3 separate regions of the Homo sapiens genome follow, and regions 2 and 3 are each linked to region 1. The links are contacts of gene promoters, found by promoter capture Hi-C in blood cells and fetal thymus (Javierre and others, 2016). All regions are on one chromosome and are shown on one strand. The core of a region is centred on a gene start or on the middle of the fragment in contact, and the rest is flanking DNA. Distances in the headings are between cores, read along the strand shown.

Evidence for each region. The method cuts DNA at HindIII sites, captures the fragments that hold promoters and counts their contacts. A CHiCAGO score of 5 or more calls a contact.
Region 2: a contact is called between a fragment that was not itself captured here and the fragment with the promoter of LINC00200 in region 1, in 1 of 17 cell types (neutrophils). The highest score is 6.5, in neutrophils.
Region 3: a contact is called between a fragment that was not itself captured here and the fragment with the promoter of LINC00200 in region 1, in 1 of 17 cell types (monocytes). The highest score is 5.5, in monocytes.

The regions. Positions count from the first base shown.
Region 1 is chr10:1,157,922-1,161,357 of GRCh38, reverse strand. LINC00200 (long intergenic non-protein coding RNA 200) reads right to left here and starts at 1,590. Exons shown (of 3, transcript NR_015376.2): 1 at 1,368-1,590; 2 at 721-805. It overlaps LOC105376344 (a long non-coding RNA gene), which reads left to right and starts at 1,596. Exons shown (of 3, transcript XR_930535.3): 1 at 1,596-2,094; 2 at 3,290-3,436. The HindIII fragment of the contact is 5,498 bases long and covers 927-3,436 here.
Region 2 is chr10:703,995-707,430 of GRCh38, reverse strand. No RefSeq gene overlaps it. Among named protein-coding and RNA genes, the nearest start is that of DIP2C, 16 kb to the right of the region's middle. The HindIII fragment of the contact is 7,827 bases long and covers 1-3,436 here.
Region 3 is chr10:794,938-798,373 of GRCh38, reverse strand. No RefSeq gene overlaps it. Among named protein-coding and RNA genes, the nearest start is that of DIP2C, 110 kb to the right of the region's middle. The HindIII fragment of the contact is 4,290 bases long and covers 1-3,436 here.

The DNA of each region.
Region 1 (3,436 bases), core at 341-2,840:
TTAATTTTTTTTTAAACAAGCCAACCAACTAAAATAACAAATTGATTTTCATTCAGGCAGCTCCCAGAACATAACTGGCTGGACCCCAGTAACGTCGCACACTGTGGAACATCAGGGCCCTCATCTTTAAAGATGTGGCTTGAGGTTTGCAGGCCTTATCGCTCATTAGCTATCCAGCCAGATGCAACTGCTCTGGAAGCAAGTAGCCCAGATAGACAGGACCTTCTGGAAATGAGCCTTCAGAGGCTGAAAAGCGTCTTGGAAGAGCAGCCCACTCTCCACCCAGCTGGCAGCTAAGTGGCTGGTAGTGTTGATTTCATTGTCTGCCTCAGCTTGGGTTCTCTCGGAAAGTCTCTGAGCCAAAGATTTGAGTGCAGGTAATTTATTAGGCACTTGCTCCCAGGCAAAAACGGTCAGGGGTGGGAGGATGAAAGGGAAGAAACCAAAAGTTGCAGAAGCATTGTCCTCGCAGCTAACATGGCCGCGTGCAAACGTGCCAGCCAGCAAGATGTTGGCATCGCCCTCTCAGCTAACATGGCTACCTGTGGAAGTGCCAGCCAGCAGGATGTCGGCATGGCCCTCGCAGCTAACATGGACACGTGCGAACGTGCCAGCCAGCAGGATGTCAGCATCCTCCTTGGAGCTGACATGGCCACGTGCGAACGTGCCAGCCAGCAGTAGTCGGCATGGTGCTGAGCACCCTCCGGGAACCGTCCCTACCTGAAATATGGGTGTGATGTACGGAGCACACGCAGCCACCCTGCAGCATGAGATGACTGTTGAGTACAGGACACGCAGAACGAAGCTGGAAAATGAAAAAAAAAAATCCTGGCTTGCTGACTTCCTGGGGCAAATACTGAGTGTTGGGAGATCATTTCCAGACTTAAATATGAGAGAGAAGTAAACCCCCCTTTTATTTCAAAGCTTAGCATGCCTATAAGTCACCTGCAGATCTTGTCAAAATGCAAGCTCTGACCAGAGAGCCCGGGCTTGTGACTTACATCATCTCCTGCTGAAATGCTGACGACACTCCAAATGGCAAGGGTTTTGGCCTCTATTATTTGGGGTTTTCTATCATTCACCATTGAAACTAATCCTCACTAATTAAAACAGTTTCACATTGGGGAGGAAAATAGTTTTTGTCTACTTTAAACTACTATGACTTAGGGTCTGTCAAAACCTCAAAAACTATATATATATATATTTCATTTCACTCGCTTTCATTTGGGACACAAATGGAGACCTGAATCACAGGTATCTTTGGAAACTGTTCTCAGCCTTCCTAGCTCAGCTGAAATGTCCTTTTCCAGGGACACTGGGCCCAGGGGGTGTGCTGGGGTCTGCGCTGGCTCCCCGGGCATTCATACCTTGGAAAGCTGCAGAGCTGACTTCAGGTTGTGCCAATTCCTGTGCTGCCTCATCCCTCATGTACATAAAGCGTGAGGCGCGCAGGCCTGCACCTGCGCCATCCCTCATCCACCTAAAGCGCGTGGCGCGCAGGCCTGCGCCGGCGCCATCCCTCATCTACGCAAAGCGTGCGACGCTCAGGCCTGTGCCTGCGTCATCCCTCATCTACGCAAAGCGTGCGACGCTCAGGCCTGCGCCGGCGCCATCCCTCATCTACGCAAAGCGTGCGACGCTCAGGCCTGTGCCTGCGTCATCCCTCATCTGCCTAAAGCCCTGCGCGCAGGCCTGTGCTTGCGCCATCCCTCATCTGCATAAAGCGTAGGGCGCGCAGGCCAGTGTGTTGGAAAACAACGCTTTGATGTTGTCTCCTGGATTTTCACAGCCTCCCTCTCACAGGAGAACAGGGGTGGACCCCGGCCTCGAGCACATCTGAGCTCTCTCTCTCCTGCCTGTGCTCCTGTTGAAGACATTCAGCCTCCGACTGCCCTCGGGAGGATGGAGATGCCCAGGTGCCGAGGCCAGAGCCCATGCGCAAAGCGAGGGCTGAGACCACGGAGGCCCCTTGTCTCCTCCAGCGGGTTCCTGAAGCCACGTCCCTGCTTGTGGAGGAAGAAAGCCGAACTGCAGCTCAGGGAGAGGTGGGCTTGCTGGCCTCGCTGGCGGCATCCGAATGCCTGGAGCCTCATGGTGGGTTCTGCTATTGCTGCCAGCAGCTGGATGTTTCGAAATTCGCCCGCTTTGGAATGATACAGTGAGACCTTGGCGGCCGCGCTGCCTGAGACGATGCTCTTACGTCTGCAGGGGAGGTTTCAAGGCCTGCTGGAGTCAGCGGCTGCCTTGCCGCCCTGGGAGGTGAGCAGCCCGTCCCTATGCTGGCTTCCTACAGGATGCAACCTGCATTTTCACCCCAGACAGACGCAGTCTTGGCCATCTGCTTGCCAGCATAGAAAATGCGTTGTTTCCCCCAAGTTTATTTTGGTTAATGGATTGAATTGGTTTTTTTAAACTGCATTGCTTTGAAACATCACTGGAGTTTTTCAGTTTTCATATTACTACATTTTTGATGTATTATCATTGAAATGCTATTTTAATGACGGTCAAAGCGGCTCCCAAGCCCTCCTTCACTGGTGAAGCACCAAGGTGCTCAAGTGAGCTCCCAGTGTACATGAGGGTGCTCTCGCTTTTGAAAAAAAGTGAAGGAGGCTGGGCGCGGTGGCTCACACCTGTAATCACAGCACTTTAGGAGGCTGAGGCAGGCGGATCACGAGGTCCGGAGCTCCAGACCAGCCTGGCCAGCATGGTGAAACCCCATCTCTATTAAAAATACAAAAATTAGCCGGGCATGGTGGCATGCACCTGTGATCCCAGCTACTCAGGAGGCTGAGGTAGGAGAATCGCTTGACCCCAGGAGGTGGAGGTTGCAATGAGCGGAGATTGTGTCATTGCACTCCAGCCTGGGCAATAGAGTGAGACTCCAAGAAAGAAAAGAAGAGAGGGGAGGAGAGGAAGGAAGGAAAAGGAAAGGAAGGGGAGGAAAAGAGAGAAAGGGAGGGAGGGAGGGAGGGAGGGAGATAAGGAAGGAAGGAAAGAAAGGAAAAAAAACGTGAAGGAAATGGAACCCTGTGGCTGTGCAGGTCACGTGGCATTGAGCGGGCCACTCTCTGTTGCCCTGGTGCGGCCCTCACGCCGCGCCAGCCAAAGGCGACCCTGCTTTCGATGACTGTTGGAGGAAACGTTAGCCACGTCCCTCATAGATTGGAAATCTGACATTTGGAAAACTGAACTCAATCATCTTTTTTTTCCCTTTTTTACTTTTCAATTCCTTCTTCCTCGGTTCTCCACTCTCAAAATTTTGCAGTCATCATTGATTCTTTCTCTCCAGAGTTCAGTTCGAGGCCAGGTTCTGCAGAATCCTGAGGTGGCATCACGAGCATCTCCTCAGTCCCTTGGCCGTGACAGCTCCTCCTCCACCCTCCATCCTGGATGAGCCGGTGAAGATGGTTCTTCCTCAGAAATAACTGCAACGCAC
Region 2 (3,436 bases), core at 484-2,983, 450 kb after region 1:
AGAAGAAATGTCTATGCAAAATAATGAAGAATTTGTGTGGCTACTTTAAATCACATACAGTCAGATATGAGATAAATGACTTAAAGATGGAATTCATAATTAAAAGAGAAGCAAAATGGAAGGATTTTGAAGTTTTTCAGCCTGACCATGTAAAGAATAAAAAGGTGAGTTTGGGAGAGCAAACCAAGGGTGTGGCCAAGTGACTGTTCACTGAGGAGATGACTGGGGAGAGAAGGAATCATCAGGACAGGGAGAATGACCCTGAAGGCACCTCCAAGATCTTCAAGGCTGCCCCCATCACTGACCGGGAGCTCCAGGGAACCCACAACCAGTGCAGTGCTCAGTCACCGCAGCTGTGGCTGCAGCCATGGCTCTGGAAAGTACAAGCTATAAACCTTGGTGGCATCCATGTGGTGCCAATTTTTAGGCAAGAAGAATGCTAGAGCTGTGGGGCAGCCTCCACCTAGATTTCAAGAGATGTCATGGACAGCCTGCGGCCCCAGGCAGGGACTTGTCACAGGAGCAGAGCCACCGCAGAGAGCCTGTACTGGGGCAATGGCAAGCAGAAATTCAGGGGTGAACCGCTGCAGAGAGGCCTCACCTGGGCAATGCTGAGGAAAGGAAAAAACTAAGCCACCATTTTTTGTAGATAAAACAATTTTATCTGTAGTACATTAAAAAATATTTTACAGATAAACTATTGGAATTAGTAAGAACGTTTATGGGGGGTTACCAAAAACAATATCAGTATAAAAATTCAATTGTATTCTATATAAAAGCAACAAATAGAAAATGTCATTTAAAAATATACCATTTAAAAATCACCAATAGCATCACCAATAGCAATTATAATAGATAAAAAAGAATAGTGTGAAAAACTTTTATGAGAAAAATTATAAAACTTTACTGAAAGACTGAAAGACATTGCTGAAAACCTAAACAAATGCAGAGATGTGCCGTGTTGTGGAGAATCAAAATGCAGAGAGGTGGTTAATCTTTCAGTTGATTTCTAGATTCAGTTCAATCCCACTCAGATCCCAGGAGGTATTTGGGGTGAGGGAGGTACACATGACAAGGTAATTCAAAATATGCAAAAATTCCAGGCACAGGAAGAGCCAAGGCATTGGAGAAGGAGAAGAAGGGAGGTGGGGAAGGAAGGCACAAGAGATCTTCTGCTATCAGTTTTGTGGATGTTATTGGCTGCATTAATACCATGTAGTATTGGTTCAGGAATGAAAAGATAGATACGTGGAACAGAATAGAGAGCTCATAAATGCTTGGCAACTTCTGGCATAGAAAGCAATTCAGAGTTCTGGGGGAAAAGTGCATTTATGTTCACCAGCGTATCATATATATGATAGTATGTAACCACATATATTATACTACTTATGAAATTATAGTATATTTGTCCTATAATAGCCAAATCTGGAAACAGCCCAAATGTCCATCAACAGTAGAATGATAGAATGAATCAATACACTCTAATATATTCATTCAAAAAATATTTAGTTAGAGGAAAAAAAGGTAGGCTACGTGAAACAGCATGGATGAATCTACCAACCTAAAGGAGAGTGGAAAAAAATATATCAACATTATACAAAGTTCAAAAGTAAGCAAAATTAAACCATATTTTACAGGGATGCATGCAATGGTGGTAAAGAAAAGTATCACTGTGCAAGTCAGGAGAATGGTCTGTCTTGGTAGGAATGAGGGAATTGCAGTCAGGAAGTGATGCATGAAGGACTTTTAGGATGACAATCATGTTCAATGTCTTGACTTGGCTCATGGTTAGTTGGATTTTCAATCATTTAAGTGCTACCTGTAACATTTATTCACATTTCTATATATTTTGCAAAAGAAATGAAAATCAATTTTAGAACCTGGTTGAGAATTAGTTGGATTTCTACTTATTTGTTAAATATCAAAGTATTTATGCACATCTCTGCATATGTTATTTTTCCCCATAAAAATTGTGTACCTGCATAATTAGACTTCCAATGAAGCAATTTCCAGACTGATTCCATTTCCTACGGGCAAGTACACTGTGCTTTTCTGATGTTTCCTTTGGTGTTCACTTCACATTTCTTTTTTCTTTTTCTTTTCTTTTTTTTTTTTTTTTTTTGAGACAGAGTCTCACTCTGTCGCCTGGGCTGGAGTGCAGTGGTGCGATCTCCGCTCACTGCAAGCTCTGCCTCCCAGGTTCACACCATTCTCCTGCCTCAGCCCCCCAAGTAGCTGGAACTACAGGCACCCACCACCATGCCTGGCTAATTTTTTGTATTTTTAGTAGAGGCGGGGTTTCACCGTGTTAGCCAGGATGGTCTTGATCTCCTGACCTCGTGATCCACCTGCCTTGGCTTCCCAAAGTGCTGGGATTACAGGCGTGAGCCACCGCACCTGGCTTCACTTCGTATTTCTAAATAGTAAGCTCATAGTGCTAGGTCTTTATTTTTAAATTTTAGATACTACTTATTGACAGTCTACATCCCCCAGATGAGGACTTGGCTGTCTTTTTTTTTTTTTTTTGAAACGGGGTCTCACTATGTTGCCCAGGCTGGTATTGAACTCCTGAGCTCAAGTGATCCATCCACCTCAGCCTTCCAAAGTGCTGGGATTACAGGTATGAGCCACCTCGCCTGGCCCAGTCGGACTTGGCTTTCTAATTTTCCTCTTGCTCTCTATGCTCACACACAAACATTTCCTATCCTGTTCCTCCCTAAATATTTTGGTTTTTGTTTATGTCAATTCTCAGAATTTACATTATTATGACTATGTAAATATCATTTATCCCCAAAATAATTCAACCTCCATCTCCTCTCAATATGCCAATTCTATCAGTTTCATTATTTTTGTTGGAGACATCCCTCCAGAAATACTTATCCTTTTCCTCCAATCTGGACTTGTGTTTACATTATATGCACATGAAAATATTTTTCACAGACTTCTACTGCCAGCCATGACACAGACTTGTCCACTGGAAACAACTACAGCATGGGCAGCACAGGAGACGAGGCATTTTAGGCTTTGAAAAGTGTGTGTTGGGAGTGTCATCTGGTTGGGCATCTCGACCATGAGCTCGCCCACTTTATTTATTTTTTTTAAAGGCAAGACTGGATGCAGTGGCTCATGCCTGTAATCCCAGAACTTTGAGAGGCTGAGTTGGGTGGATCACAAGGTCAGGAGTTTGAGACCAGCCTGACCAACATGGTGAAACTCTGTCTCTACTGAAAATATAAAAACTAGCCTAGCGTGGTGGCACATGCCTGTAGTCTCAGCCACCCAGGAGGCTGAGGCAGGAGAATCGCTTGAACCTGGGAGGTGGAGGTTGCAGTGAGCCAACATTGCACCACTGCACTCCAGCCTGGGGGACAGAGCAACACTCTGTCTCAAATAAAAGCAAACAAACAAACAACAACAACAAAAAAAAAAAAAACAA
Region 3 (3,436 bases), core at 283-2,782, 360 kb after region 1:
TTCTTTATAGCAGTATGAAAATGGACTAATATAATAAGTTGGTACCAGTAGAGTGGGGTACTGCTATTAAGATACCTGAGGCCAGGCATGGTGGCCCATGCATGTAATCCTAGCACTTTGGGAGGCCGAGGGAGGCAGATGATCATCACCTAGGTCAGGAATTTGAGACCAGCCTGGCCAACATGGCGAAATCCCGTCTCTACTAAAAATACAAAAATTAGCCAGGCGTAGTGGCGAGTGCCTATAATCCCAGCTGCTTGGGAGGCTGAGGCAGGAGAATCACTTGAACCCAGGAGGCCGAGGTTGCAGTAAGTCAAGATCGTGCCACTGCATTCCAGCCTGGGTGAAAAAAGTGAGACTCCATCTCAAAAAAAAAAAAATGTGGAAGCAACTTTGGAACTGGATAACAGGCAGAGGTTGGAACAGTTTGGAGGACTCAGAAGAAGACAGGAAGATGTGGGAAAGTTTGGAACTTCCTAGAGATTTGTTGAATGGTTTTCACCAAAAAGTCCAGGCTGAGATAGTCTCAGATGAAGATGAGGAACTTATTGGGAACTGGACAAAGTTGATTCTTGCTATGCTTTAGCAAAGAGACTGGCAGCCTTTTGTCCCCTAGAGATCTGTGGAACTTTGAACTTGAGAGAGATGATTTAGGGTATCTGGTGGAAGAAATTTCTAAGCAGCAAAGTGTTCAAGATGTTTGGTGCTCTTAAAAGCATTCGGTTTTATTCCTTCACAAAGATATGGTTTGGGATTGGAACTTGTATTTAAAAGGGAAGCACAGCACTAAATTTCAGAGAATTTGCAGCCTAACAATGCAATAGAAGAGAAAAACTAATTTTCTGATGAAAAATTTAAGCCAGCTGCAGAAATTTGTATAAGTAACAAGGGGCCAAATGTTAATTGTCAAGACAATGGGCAAAATGTCTCCAGGGCATGTTAGAGGTCTTCATAGCACCTCCTCACATCACAAGCCAGGAGGCCTAGGAGGAAAAAATGGTTTCGTGGGTTGGGCTCAGGGTCCTGCTGCTTTGTGCAGTCTGAGAACTTGGTGCCCTCTGCCCCTGCAGCCACACCTGTGACTGAACATCCAGGCATTTCCATACAACCTCTGAAATCTAGGTGGAAGTTTCCAAACCTTATTCTTGTCTTCTGTGCACCTGTAAGACCAACACCATGTGGAAGCTGCCAAGCCTTGGGGCTTTCAATCTCTGAAGCCATGGCCTGAGCTGTACCTTGGCCCCTTTTAGCCATGGCTGGAGCAGCTGGGACACAGGGCGTCAAGTCCCTAGGCTGTACACAGCAGGGGGGCCCTGCGTCCAGCCCACAAAACCATTTTTAACTCCTAAGCTGCCTTGAAGGTCTCTGATACTCCCTGGAGACATTTTCCCCATTGTCTTCGTGATTAACCAAGTGTTACTTATGCAAATTTCTACAGCAGGCTTGAATTTCTCTCCAGAAAATGGGTTTTCCTTGTCTACTGCATTGTCAGGCTGCTAATTTTCCAAACTTTTATCCTCTGCTTCCTCTTGAACACTTTGCCACTTAGAATTTTCTTCTGCCAGATATTCTAAATCATCTCTCAAGTTCAAAGTTCCACAGATCTCTAGGGCAGGGGCAAAATGCTGCCAGTGTCTTTGCTAAAGCATAGCAAGAGTCACCTTTGCTCCAGTTGCCAACAAGTTCCTCATCTCCATCTGAGACCACATCAGCCTGGACTTTCTTGTCCATATCACTATTAGCATTTTGGTCAAAGACATTCAACAAATCTCTAGGAAGTTCCAAACTTTCCCACATCTTCCTTTCTTCTGAGCCCTCCAAGTCTCTAGTAAGTTCCAAACTTTCCCACATTTTCATATCTTCTTCTGGACCCTCCAAACTGTTCCAACCTCTGCTTGTTACCCAGTCCCAAAGTTGCTTTCACATATTTGGGTTCTTTACAGCAGCACCCCACTTCCGGTACCAATTTACTGTATTAGTCTGTTCTCACACTGTTAATTAAGACATACCTGTGACTGGTTAATTTATAGAGGAAAGGAGGTTTAATGGACTTAGAGTTCTACATGGTTGGGGAGGCCTCACAATCATGCCGGAAGGCAAAGGAGGAGCAACAGCACGCTTTACATGGCGGCAGACAAGTGAGCTTGTGCAGGGGAACTGCCCTTTATAAATCCATCAGATCTCTTGAGACTTACTCACTATCATGAGAACAGCATGGGAAAACCCACCCCCGTGATTCAGTTATCTCCCAGCAGGTCACTCCCACAACACGTGGGGATATGGGAGCTGCCATTCAAGAAGAGATATGGGTGGGGACAGAGCCAAACCACATCAGAGATGTTCCCTGGATTTCTTCTATCTGGATGTCTACCTCTCTAGCAAGATTAGGGAAATTTTCTTGAGCTATTCCCTCAATTACATTTTCCAGGTTGTTTACTTTTTCTCCCTTCTCAGGAATGCCAATAATGTGTAGGTTTGGTCACTTTAAGTAATTCTGTGTTTCTTGAAGATTTTGTTCATTAAAAATTTTTTTTCTATATTTTTGTCTGTCTGGGTTAGTTCAAAAGACTGGTCTTCAGGCTCTGAAATTCTTTATTCTGTTTGGCCCAGTCTATTGGTAAAGTTTCAATTGTATTTTGAAATTCCATGAGTGTTTCAATTCCAGAAGCTCTGATTGATTTATTGTTAAGATTTCTTCCTTCATTTCCTGGGTGGCTTTAGAAGTTTCTGTGTGCTAATTTTCAACTCCGTTTTGCATCTTGTCGAGCTCCCTTTGTAGCAGGAAGAGCTGCAGACAAAACCCCTCGAAACACCGAGTTTAGGAAAGAAAGGGCTTTATTTGGCCGGGAGTGTCAGCAGTCTTATTCTCAAAAAACCAAGCTCCCTGAGTGAGCAATTCCTGTCCCTTTTAAGGGCTTACAGTTCTAAAGGGGTCTGTGTGAGAGGGTCGTGATTGATTGAGCAAGCAGTGGGTATGTGACTGGGGCCTGCATGCACCAGTAATCAGAATGGAACAGAACAGGACAGGGATTTTCACGATGCTTTTCCATACAATGTCTGAAATCTATAGATAACACAAGCAGTTAAGTCAGGGGTTGATTTTTAACTACCAGGCCCAGGGCATGGCACCGGGCTGTCTTCTTGTGGATTTCATTTCTGCCTTTTAGTTTTTACTTTTTTCTTTGGAGGCAGAAATTGAGCATAAGACAATATGAGGGTCTCCTCCCTTACCTTGAAATCCATGCCTACATATCTTACCTGTCATTTCTGAGTTTCTGTTTTGGTCAGGGACCATTGCTGGAGAGCTACTGGGATCCTCTGGAGGTGTCCCTACGTTCACATTTTTCATGGCACCAAAATTCTTCTGCTGGCTCATCTGGAGATGCTGGCACTTCTAATTTTTGTAATTATTTTCTTGCAGGTAGGATTTTTCTCT